4 separate regions of the Homo sapiens genome follow, and all the other regions are linked to region 1. Evidence: promoter capture Hi-C in 16 types of primary human blood cells and fetal thymus (Javierre and others, 2016). All regions are on one chromosome and are shown on one strand. Each heading gives the region's core, a stretch centred on a gene start or on the middle of the fragment in contact. The rest is flanking DNA. Distances are from core to core; before and after follow the strand shown. Region 1 holds the start of OTUD4 (OTU deubiquitinase 4). Region 2 overlaps ZNF330 (zinc finger protein 330). Region 3 overlaps ELMOD2 (ELMO domain containing 2). Region 4 overlaps SCOC-AS1 (SCOC antisense RNA 1).

Region 1 (2,753 bases), core at 226-2,725:
ATGGTTTTGAAAAGCTCCAGTTACACGTACCCTTTCTACTACCAACATCAAAACAGGCTTTTTTAAAAAAGTCAGTTCTGTTTAGTATACCTACACAGCCCAGCAGAGCATAATAAAGGGTGGAACCTACTCAAGACAAATCCTTCAAAATATTCTATATTTGTAAAAGGCTGGTTTTCTCAAACGGCAGTTTGCCCATTTGATTCAAGTGACATGGGCGAGCTTGCCTACCCTACATTCCAAAGTCCAGCAGCAAACCAAAATATGTTCCACAAGTAAAGTTTGATCCACCACTTCTAGTAAACACTTGGTTTACTGGAGTGGGGTGAGCGTGGTGCTTCTCAAACGAAGGGAAGGAAGGTGAATGCGGAACAAAAGTAAAAAATATCATGTCGCCAGGTCCCCAGCAATAAATCAACTGTACAAGCTCCGAGCAGGCCTCACAAGTTGTCCTCAACTCATTACCTCTTCATCAGGAGAGAGACACCCCGTTAATTTGCGGGCTTTCGAGTTTCAATTTGCACCTTTCAGACGCAAAGCAGCGTCCCACTCCGGCGTTACAATGGGGCGCTGTGACGACAGCCAGGGCACGCGCAGCCCCGGCCGTGGGCGGCCCGGACAGCCCGCAGCTGCCTCCCCACCCAGACCCGCCGGGCCGTCCCCGCCTCCCCTCGAAGCCCTCCCCGCCCCCCCGCAATTACCTGCTCCGCCACGGCCCGGAACAGGCACGACCCGTCCTTGGCGACCAGTTTCCGATACAAGCCCAGTTTCCGCAGATAGGCGTCCATGGGCGTCGCGTCCTCGCGGGGCCCCGCGCCGCCCTGGTCCCCGCCGTCGGGGACGCCGACGGCAGCCTCCATGTTGCTGGTCCTGCTGCAGGCCAGGCGCGGCGAGGGCTAGCCCCACATGGCCAGGCCGCCGGCTGCTCGACGCCCCGGCCTGGGGCAGGCGGCGGCTCGGGCTGGGGCTCGGGCTCCGCGAGCGGCGGCAGGCGGCGGCGGCCCGAGGCAGCGGTCCGCGCTCTCCGGGCGCATAGGGAAGCCCTGCCTAATGCATGGCTGTCCGCACGCGGCCGCCTCCTCGGAGCGAACACGCGCCCACGACAAACGGGGGGAGCGGGATTAAGGAAAACCCCGAGAGTGAGTAGTCACTTCCCGACGGCCTCGCTGCCTGACTCAGGACCCAGGCCGGGGGTCGCCGCCCCCACAAGTTTCCTCCTCCGTACCGGTGTGAAGCGAGAAAACCCCCGCCCCTGGCGCGCACGCTGGGCCGGCTCAGGTGAAGCGGGGCCTGCGCCCCCGCGCACTCCCCACGCCGGGAGCCGAGGAAACCAAAAAGAAAGACGCGGCCTTTCGTTTCCCCACCTCGCTGGAGGGCGCCGGAGGGGCAGGGAGCGGGTGGGGGCGCCCGGGAGAGAACAGCACCTCGCAGCCCAGAATTTGTTTTCGCTTTCGGCCCGACAGCGGAGAGGACGGCGGGAGATGTAGTCTTGGCAGCCGCAGGAAGTCGGCTTGCGGCGGGCGGGGACGCGCTGGCCGGCCTACCCGGGGGAGGTGCCCGGGAGGCGCGCGGACTACAAGTCCCTACAGCGCGGGCGCGCCGCCGCCACCGCCACCGCCCCAAGCCGGCTTCGCGCTGCACTGGCGCCGCGTCCGCGAGCAGGCCGAGGGGCTCCGCCGGCCGATGTGGGGCGACCTGCGCGCGCCACCCGCCAACCCTGCCGCTGCGCCGCGGGAATCGCGCGCGCCGGGCTGGCGTGGAGTTGCCAGGGACACGGCGGCGCAGTGTCGGCCCTTTGTGTATTTCTTTCCAGAGGGCGCACCTGTCTGCTCCCTTCCCCCCGGCCTGCTCTCCTGGTGTTTCCATGGAGGTGGCTTTAACGGCTTAAGCAGAAAATAGAGCTAATTGGCTGAGGCTCCGGGAACTGGCACGGTGCGGGACGACACACTCTGTCCATAAATCAACCGTGGACTGCTGATTGCTATTAGTAGTACAGCTCACGTACTACGGCAAGATGAAGGCTTTGCCAAAGACATTTTTGTTCACCCTGTCACTGTAGCTGAGCACCCCATCACAGAGACATGTCACTGTCGGAAGACGTTAGGGTTTTTTTTTCCCCCTTAAAAAATTCATCTTGTAAATTGCTTGATAACATGCTGACTGGACTGGCCATGGCTTCCACCAGTGCTCGAGGCTTCAGCTCAACTTCCCACCCTCCGACGTTGAATGGCAGGGAATTGACAAAGTTAAATTATGCTTTAGAACCCAGAATTTATCCAGCATGCTTCTGTTGCACCAAAATTTTATTTTGCTAAGATACAACATCTGGTGTCCTTATTTAAATACATGGTTAATCATAGGAACTAATTCAGTCTTTTAGGCTATGGTGGAGGAGAGGGAGAAGAAAAGGGAGCATTACTATAGGTTTAGACATGTAGTCAAATACCTTGGAATGGGGGGCAAGGCAGGCCAGGTGGTGAGAGTCCAACGACAAAAATTTTTTAAAAACTACGTTAGACACTTTTCAGTATTTTCAGTGCAAGCAATCAGTCATGTATTCACTTTCCTTGGAGCGTCTTTGATTTCTTAATGTTTAAATATTGTATCTCAAATTATGCTGCTTTTAGAGAATACAAACGTTATCGTTACCTAAATGAAAAAATGTCCCTGCCTCAAATTTACTTGTTGTAGCGAAGAAACACTTTGAAATCAGGTTTAGAAAAGTATAGTTTCAGCTGGGCGTGGTGGCTCAC
Region 2 (2,813 bases), core at 12-2,511, 4.0 Mb before region 1:
AACAAAGTGCATGATGAAGTCTTCAGACTGTGTCATAAAGCATGCTGGTGTATACAGTACTGGCCTTGCAATGGTGGTAAGCTTCTTATTATCTCTTAGACTAGTACGTTTTCAAGGATAAGAAAATGTCATTCTGATCAGTGGTTATTTTTTTCTAAATATCATTGCTTTGTCCCTTGTTTCAATCAATCTGTAGTTATCTGGATTATGAGTGGCATGCTTTTTGTATGATTTTCCCTTAGTACCCACTTGTTTCTAGCTGCTTCTTTCTTTCTTATTAGGGAACATACAAGGCATGGAAACTTTTCATGCTGATCTAAACAGAATTTCATTTCTCAGTGGTACCTTTTTTTTTTTAAATTTTATTATTATTATTATACTTTAAGTTTTAGGGTACATGTGCACAACATGCAGGTTTGTTACATATGTATACATGTGCCATGTTGGTGTGGTGCACCCATTAACTCGTCATTTAGCATTAGGTATATCTCCTAATGCTATCCCTCCCCCATCCCCCCACCCCACAACAGTCCCCGGTTTGTGGTGTGTGATGTTCCCCTTCCTGTGTCCATGTGTTCTCATTGTTCAGTTCCCACCTATGAGTGAGAACATGCGGTGTTTGGTTTTTTGTCCTTGCGATAGTTTGCTAAGAATGATGGATTCCAGCTTCATCCGTGTCTCTACAAAGGACATGAACTCATCATTTTTTATGGCTGTATAGTATTCCATGGTGTATATGTGCCACATTTTCTTAATCCAGTCTATCATTGTTGGACATTTGGGTTGGTTCCAAGTCTTTGCTATTGTGAATAGTGCCACAATAAACATACGTGTGCATTTGTCTTTATAGCAGCATGATTTATAATCCTTTGGGTATATACTCAGTGGTACCTTTCTAATATCTCTTAACCAGACTTCACAAAACAGTATTTAGTGTACCGAAAGCCCTGCTTAACCAACGTTTAAGCCTTTGGTTAAATAAGCAACTTAGTTCCAAACGAACCTAGGATAATAGTGTTCTTTAAAACTTTACATTTCAAAAAAGTGTATATATTTAACATACCTCTTCATTACATATAGGATTTTTTAAAGTAAATTCAGCTTTTTGAATAATAAAACCAACTGGATTATGTGATGTATTTTGCTCTTTTTCCTGAAACATGTTTTCCTTCTAAATATGAGTTAACCAGTTTTACTGTATTGCAGTATGATTTTATGTTCAAATAAAATTTTGTTCAAATTTTAATCTATGAGGAAAATGATACTATATTTATGTCAAATGGAATATTTTATTTATGGTAAATTTCCAAGAACATGTAAACTTCTATTATGAGGGAGACCTATGATATATTTCATATGTGCATATATTATAGAAGCAAGGAGCGAGAATTATCATCTTGTGAATTGCTCTTTATTTTAAGTATAGGATTGTCAAGTTATCTTTATTCAAAAACACTTTCAGTCTTCCTTGGTAGCTTAAGTTCAGCCAAATTCATTTTTTAAAATCACTGTTTTTTGAATGTGAATAATTTCTTCTTACATAAAGAAAACATTTAAGTAGAGTCATATATCTTTAGTTGTAAATTCTAGAAAAGTGATTTTCTGGATATCTTCTATTTGCCTCCCCAGATTCCCCCTGAGAATAGCAGGAGAATAAGATCTGGGTGTTTATTCCTTCATCTCACTCCGTACCAGGTTATCCTGGTTTGGTTTTATCCTTTCTCTAAGGACCACAGTTCTCCCTATATGGCCAGGTAGTCCTCTCCTGTTTGTCCTAAGAACTTCCCTGTCCTCTGCAAATTATCTCTTTAAAACTCTTCTAGATTACCTAGTTTGAGAGTACCATCTCTTTTTTGCAAGAACCCTGGCTGATCCAAGAGATATAGTTGATGATTTGCTAGCTATACTGATAACCCATTTTTGCAAGTCAAAAAACATTCTTCCTATTTGTTGTTTACTACATTTGTTTCAGAGCCTTGAATAATAGAATACTGAATTGAGATTCTGAAATCCTGGCTTTAAATCTCACCTCACCTGTAATCCAACTCGGGACTTGGATTTAGTCTTGGGCCCCATGCTTTTCCTTTATAAAGGAAAGATTGTCTGATCCTACTCTCTTAAGATTCTTTCTAGCTTTTAATATTTGGTAGGTGTCAATGTTTTATTGAAACATATTGTTATTGTCTTTTCTTGATATAGAATTGGAGAATCTTACCCTGTATTTTAGTTCCATATATTTTACTTCAAATTTTTTCCACAAAGAAATGTAATTATTATTAAAACATAAGTTGTCATAAGAGAAAAAAAGAAGCTGGCAGAAGTTTCGTATTTCTCAGTAATTCTAGAAAAGCTATGCAAATATATAGATAAGAAGGTATTTTAAAAATCAGAAATGGTAGTATTTAAAAATTCAGTGTAGTTACAGGAATTATTATAGACAAGAAAGCTTAAGCTGTTGGTTCCTTCAAACTTTATTTGAATTAAATTCATTTTGAGGAAAATACTTCCATCTCTTTGGCTTAATTAAATAATATTAGGATAAGTGTACAGTTTACCTTTTTTTCTTTTGATATGTAACTGAGTTTTGTATATTGTGGATAGCTGTTAAGAAGTTGTTTTTCAGAGAACCCTTTTTATTTTTGGCTTAGAGTGAGTAGTAAAATGTTTAAATGAAGCGGCCTACTATCATTGAGGGTTGATAAATTGCTAAATGTATACAGTTTTGATGGTTGCCGTGGTTAAAGAATGGTTGCAGGTGGTCAGGTGATAATGATTATGTATTCTTGTTCCTTGGTTACAGGGTGCAATATGTG
Region 3 (2,700 bases), core at 46-2,545, 4.7 Mb before region 1:
TGTGGCTATACAGAATTTTAAAGTACACAAATGGGTCACATTTTGGCTTGTGTTATATTTCTGTTGAACAGTGTTGCTCTGTTACCTTCTAAAATACATCAGTTTTCAGTGCTTCATTGAAAATTTTACTCTAAAATTTGAACACAGATGAGTAAGAACTGTGTTTTGAAGTCGCTTCTTTTCAGCCAGGGTAAGGAAGAGCAGAGAAGTGCTCTAGCTCATGCTCTCTGTGTTAAACGGAAAATTGTGAATTAGCCAGATTTTTTTTTTGTGTTGATCAAGTGTGCTTCGACTGAGAAATCAACCCCTGTCAGGTTAAGAGAGTGGAGTATTGGCAAATGGAACCTGTATCCAAGACAACATCGGAAGAATGACAGACAGACGCTGCCTCATAGCAGCTGGTTGATTAAGTTTAATTACTTTCCTAGTTTTCTTACAACTTCATGGTTGACTTAAATTATTGCTGCTCTTTTAATTTGCCCTTTTGACTACTCAAAAGAACAAAGTACCTCTTGATAAGAAATCTCTTCAGGCAGTATGGGTTGGTGTTTTATAGTGTGGGGGAAGAATATATATAAAGGCATTTGTTTGTGGCAAAAGCATTTTTCCTAAATTTTTCAAATTGCTGAGAAAAGATTATTCGTAAATGTGCCAGAAAATTTTTTAAATAGACCAATAAAAATGTTCCTGTGATTCTTGATATAGAAACCAGGAATGGAGAAGCTATTTGTCTGGTGACAGAAGGGTTGACCAGATAATCTGAAGTCCTTGCCTATTTGTTGTACGATTTGGTTGCTATCACCTCAAATCTAAAGGCTCAGGCTAACAAATGAAAATGCAGTAGAGAGCACTCTCATTGTAGTCTTAAGATGAGTTTCTGGGACCTGAGCTACTGTGACACAATTATGGGTGAATTTGCAGTGGTTAGTAGACACTTTGGGGTCTAAACAGAAACATATGACCCCAGGTAATGAGGTTGGTGTCACCTCTTTGAATAGGTATTTTGTGTTTGGTTGAGTTTTTTGAAATCATATGTTTATACTGTAAGATTAAATTTTAAAATGCTTCCTGTTATATAGAAATTATATCTCCTGGAACTATTAGTTTGTTACTGGTTTGATATTTTTACTAGTTGTTTATTATAGGGTAATTGACAAACAGCATTTAAGTGATAACATCTTTTTTTTTTTTTTGTCATTTCAGAAAATTCCTTGACATACTCCAAGAATAAGGTAGGATAACATAAAGGTGGTAACTCTAGAAAACTTAACGTGGACATATTTTTTCTTAAAAAAAAAAAAGTGCCCTGCTAGAAGAGTGTTTTCTATAGTGAGCATTGAGTGAAATTTTCCCCGTTTAGAGGTAATATTCTGTTTTCAAACATTTCTCTATATATGTGTTTTTCGTGTGTATTTCAAAGAAAATACTTGAATAATTTGTCCTGTCCTGAGGTTTTATTTGTTTATTTTGCTTTAAGAGTTGATAGCTTTTAGGAAAGCAGGGCCTTAGGAGGAAAGTCGTCTTTTAGACTGTGTCCTCAGGATAGATTATATGAGAGAAAAGCAACTTAGGATAGAGAAAACCCTGGGTTGTGTACCTTTTGAGCTAAAATAAGTCATAATTCATGCTATGTATTAGTCAGCTTTTGCTGTGTAACAAACTATAATAAAATCTCAGGGGCATAAAACGATACGTTGTTTCTTGCTCATATGTCTATGGGTCAGCTGGAGAAGCCTTACTTCAAGCTGGGGCCAAGTTCCTGTCTATTCCATTTGTCTCATCTGGGACTCAGGTAGGGGGTTAACAGGTATCTGGTGAATGTTTTCACCATGGATAACTAAAGGCCCAACTACACAAATATATTTTAAGTCTCTTTGTGTCATGTCTGTTAGCAACCTGTTAGTTAAAACAAGTTACATGGCCAAGCCCAAGTCAAGGGGTGGAGAAATATGATATGCCCACCGTAAGGCTATGGTAGGGAGTAGGTTGTATAATTCAATTACAAGGTAATGAAGAATTGGGACCAATAATTCAGTCTACCACATGCTGTTACTTCCCTATTGTAGTTCACAATTTTGTCTACATGTAGATTATTTGGTGTGGCAAGGATAGAATACGGGTCATCTAGACCATTGTTTGAAATCCCATAATAGAACACAACCAGTATTAAACAATAATAGGAATAGAACAGAAAATATTTAGAAACCATTGGTCATAATATGGTTAAATATATTTTAGGAATTTTTTATACTATTATAATTATTTTAAATATTTCTGTGTACATCTGTGTGTATTTTGGACATCCACATGAATGTTTGTTATTGATCATGATGTAAAATGTGGCTCAAGGTCAAAAATGTTGATTTGCTACTGTCTAGTATTATGAATCGTGCCAGAAATAAAATAGACCTTCTTGAGAGTTGCAAGCATATCTGTTATGTTCTGAAGAGTAACCTTTAAAATAGGTACTTTAATGATTTAGTTGTACTCTTTAAGAATGGTCTATTTAAGAATAACTCATATATATAAGTGAATATTTGGGGGAAGAGTCCAGAGTTACACTCCTTTGTTCAGAATTGTTAGAGAGTGATTAATATATTTTTTAAAATGAGGATGTGGAGGTCCTGAAAGCTAACAGGTTGCTGGTTCTCAAAATTTATTTATACCTTATTTATTTGTATAGTTCCTTTATTTGAAACA
Region 4 (2,700 bases), core at 151-2,650, 4.8 Mb before region 1:
GTACAGTTTTCAATTAGGACTTCCCCCATTCTCTAGGAAAAAAAATGTAATTTTGTGCCTTTATTTAGATGAACTATATTATCAATATTCACATAGTCCAGGTCGCATGAATGTTCACCTTATAATCAAATATTTCTATGCAATCTCAGTGGTTTCTATTTGTACTTATAGCCTTTCCTTATTCAGAAGGGGGATTTTTTTTTTTTTTTTTTTTTTTTTTTTTTTTTTTTTTTAGATGGAGTTTCGCTCTTGTTGTCCAGGTTGGAGTGCAATGGCGCCATCTCAGCTCACTACAACCTCCACCTCCTGGGTTCAAGCAGTTCTCCTGCTTCAGCCTCCCAAGTCTGAAAGCTGAAAATAAGCTGAAAGCTGAGTCATGCAAGAGCTGCCTTTTTATGTTTACATTTTAGTTTAAAATTACTTTCTAATTTTTTTGTGTGTGACTTCCCCTGTGACCCATGGTTTGTTTAGAAGTACATAGTTTGATTTCCAACTATTTGGAGATTTACAAATATCTTTCTGTTACTGATTTCTAGTTTAATTTGTGGGTAGAGACAATAATTTTTACTGTTTCAATTATTTTAAATTTGCTGAGATTTGTTTGATGATACACAGTGGAGTCTATTTTGATGAATTTTCCAAGTGCATTGGAAAAGAAAGCATGTTCTTCAGTTATTGGGTGCAATGTTCTACAAATGTCCATTAGGTCAAGTTGGCTGATAGGATTGTTCAGGTCTTCTATATCAATAGTTCAGAAATTTGCCAGCCTTTTTTCAAAATCACCTTCGTAACTTTCAAAAATACTAATGCCTGTATCTCACTCCTTAAGACTGTAATTTATTCTGAGGTGTGGTCTGTTCACTAGAATAATTAAAAGATTCCCAGGTGATTCTAATATACTGAAAAGTTTGGGACCTGAGTTCTGTATACTTAAATTATCTGTATAGTTGTTTTACAAATTGCAGAGCAGGGAGTAATGAACTGTTTGAATTCAATTAATTTTTGATTCATTTCTATTTTGTAGCACTGTGGTTAGGATTTTGTGTCTTCTTGATGAATATGCCCCTTTATCTAATTGTTTTAATGTTATTTTACCTAATTATTAGTGAAGGTAAACATTTTTTAAAAACCTTTCTGGCCGTTCAGTTTTCCTCTTCTGTAAGTGGCCTACTTACGTTATTTGCATATATTTATCTTGAGTTGTCTTTTTCTTACTGATTTGTCTGAATTCTTTTTTTTTTTTTTGAGACGGAGTCTCACCCTGTCGCCCAGGCTGGAGTGCAGTGGCACCATGTCACTGCAAGCTCTGCCTCCTGGGTTCATGCCACTCTCCTGCCTCAGCCTCCCGAGTAGCTGGGACTACAGGCGCCCGCCACCACGCCCAGCTAATTTTTTGTATTTTTAGTAGAGACGGGGTTTCACCGTGTTAGCCAGGATGGTCTCAATCTCCTGACCTCGTGATCCACCCGCCTCGACCTCCCAAAGTGCTGGGATTACAGCCGTGAGCCACCGCGCCTGGCCTGAATTCTTTATATTTTGAGAGTTTTACTATATTCTGCCAACCTGTGGCTTGTTTTTTAACTTGATTAGAGATGGCTTCTCTTCTGTTTGTAAAACTTCCAAATTTTAAAATAATCAATATTTTACATCTTTCCTTAATGAATCGTGCTGTTTCTTCCCTACGGCGATATACAGACATACGCTTTTCTTCTAAAAGTTTAGAGTTTTGTTTGTCACATTTTGGATCATTATTTCATTTGGAATTTAGTTTTATTTCTGTCGTGGTATCAGGATTGAATTTCTTATTTTTATATAAATAGCCAATTTAACTAGAACCACCATAACTTGTGTTTTCTATATCCCACGAACAGTTACTATACTAATTTACACTCCCAACAGTAATGAATAATAGTTTTTTCCCCACAACCTTAGAAACAGTTATTCCTCACCAGACATCTTTATTGTATACCAACTTCCAGGTACCCTTTTTTTCCTAATTTTCTTTTTGTCTATTCTTGTGTCAATACCACTTTTTTAAAAGTTGCTTTAAAATAGAATTACCATATGATTCAGCACAAATTAACACACACTTCTGGGTGTATATCCAAAAGAACTGAAAAGAGGGTCTCAAAGAGACATTTGCACACCCATGTCCATAGCAGTATTATTCACAATAGCCAAAAGGAGGAAGCAACCTAAGCGTCCACTGATAGATGAATAAACAAAATGTGGCATAATACACATAATAAATGATATATAGAACTATTCAGCCTTAAAAAGGAAGTTCTGCAATATGCTATAACATGGATGAACTCTGAGGCATTATGCTAAATGAAATAAGCCAGTCATAAAAGGGCAAATTCTGTATTATTCCACTTAGGTGAGGTACCTAGAGTAGTCAAACTGATAAACACAAAGTAAGATGATTACTGCCAGAGGATGAGGGGAATAGGAAATGGAGAGTTGCTCTTTAATAGGTATACAGTTTTAGTTTGGCAAGATGAAAAGAGAGATTGGTTCTGGAGATTGGTTGGAGAACAATGTGGAATGTATCTTATACTACTGAAGTTAAAAATGGTTAAGATGGTAAATTTTATTCTATGTATATTTCACTACAATTAAAAATATTTAAAAATACTGTTCTAGCAAAAACAAAAGGTTGCTTTTAATAGTTTCTCTTGATCTTTGGTGTCCTGCAAT

The links. The method cuts DNA at HindIII sites, captures the fragments that hold promoters and counts their contacts. A CHiCAGO score of 5 or more calls a contact.
Region 2: a contact is called between a fragment that was not itself captured here and the fragment with the promoter of OTUD4 in region 1, in 1 of 17 cell types (activated CD4 T cells). The highest score is 6.3, in activated CD4 T cells.
Region 3: a contact is called between a fragment that was not itself captured here and the fragment with the promoter of OTUD4 in region 1, in 2 of 17 cell types (non-activated CD4 T cells and total CD4 T cells). The highest score is 7.8, in non-activated CD4 T cells.
Region 4: a contact is called between a fragment that was not itself captured here and the fragment with the promoter of OTUD4 in region 1, in 2 of 17 cell types (non-activated CD4 T cells and total CD4 T cells). The highest score is 7.9, in non-activated CD4 T cells.

Annotation. Positions count from the first base shown.
Region 1 is chr4:145,179,114-145,181,866 of GRCh38, forward strand. It overlaps OTUD4 (OTU deubiquitinase 4), which reads right to left and starts at 1,476. Exons shown (of 21, transcript NM_001366057.1): 1 at 702-1,476. The coding sequence starts at 860. RefSeq lists enhancers at 578-1,407, 1,408-2,237 and silencers at 583-1,042, 1,163-1,392, 1,483-1,882. The HindIII fragment of the contact is 3,984 bases long and covers 1-2,753 here.
Region 2 is chr4:141,226,771-141,229,583 of GRCh38, forward strand. ZNF330 (zinc finger protein 330) reads left to right here. Exons shown (of 10, transcript NM_014487.6): 5 at 1-76; 6 at 2,801-2,813. Among named protein-coding and RNA genes, the nearest start is that of ZNF330, 7.3 kb to the left of the region's middle. The HindIII fragment of the contact is 2,365 bases long and covers 80-2,444 here.
Region 3 is chr4:140,526,263-140,528,962 of GRCh38, forward strand. ELMOD2 (ELMO domain containing 2) reads left to right here. Exons shown (of 9, transcript NM_153702.4): 3 at 1,204-1,232. Among named protein-coding and RNA genes, the nearest start is that of ELMOD2, 3.4 kb to the left of the region's middle. The HindIII fragment of the contact is 4,334 bases long and covers 1-2,700 here.
Region 4 is chr4:140,369,664-140,372,363 of GRCh38, forward strand. The region is part of intron 1 of SCOC-AS1 (SCOC antisense RNA 1); the gene reads right to left. It also overlaps a transcript of SCOC not described here. Among named protein-coding and RNA genes, the nearest start is that of SCOC-AS1, 2.4 kb to the right of the region's middle. The HindIII fragment of the contact is 4,110 bases long and covers 1-2,700 here.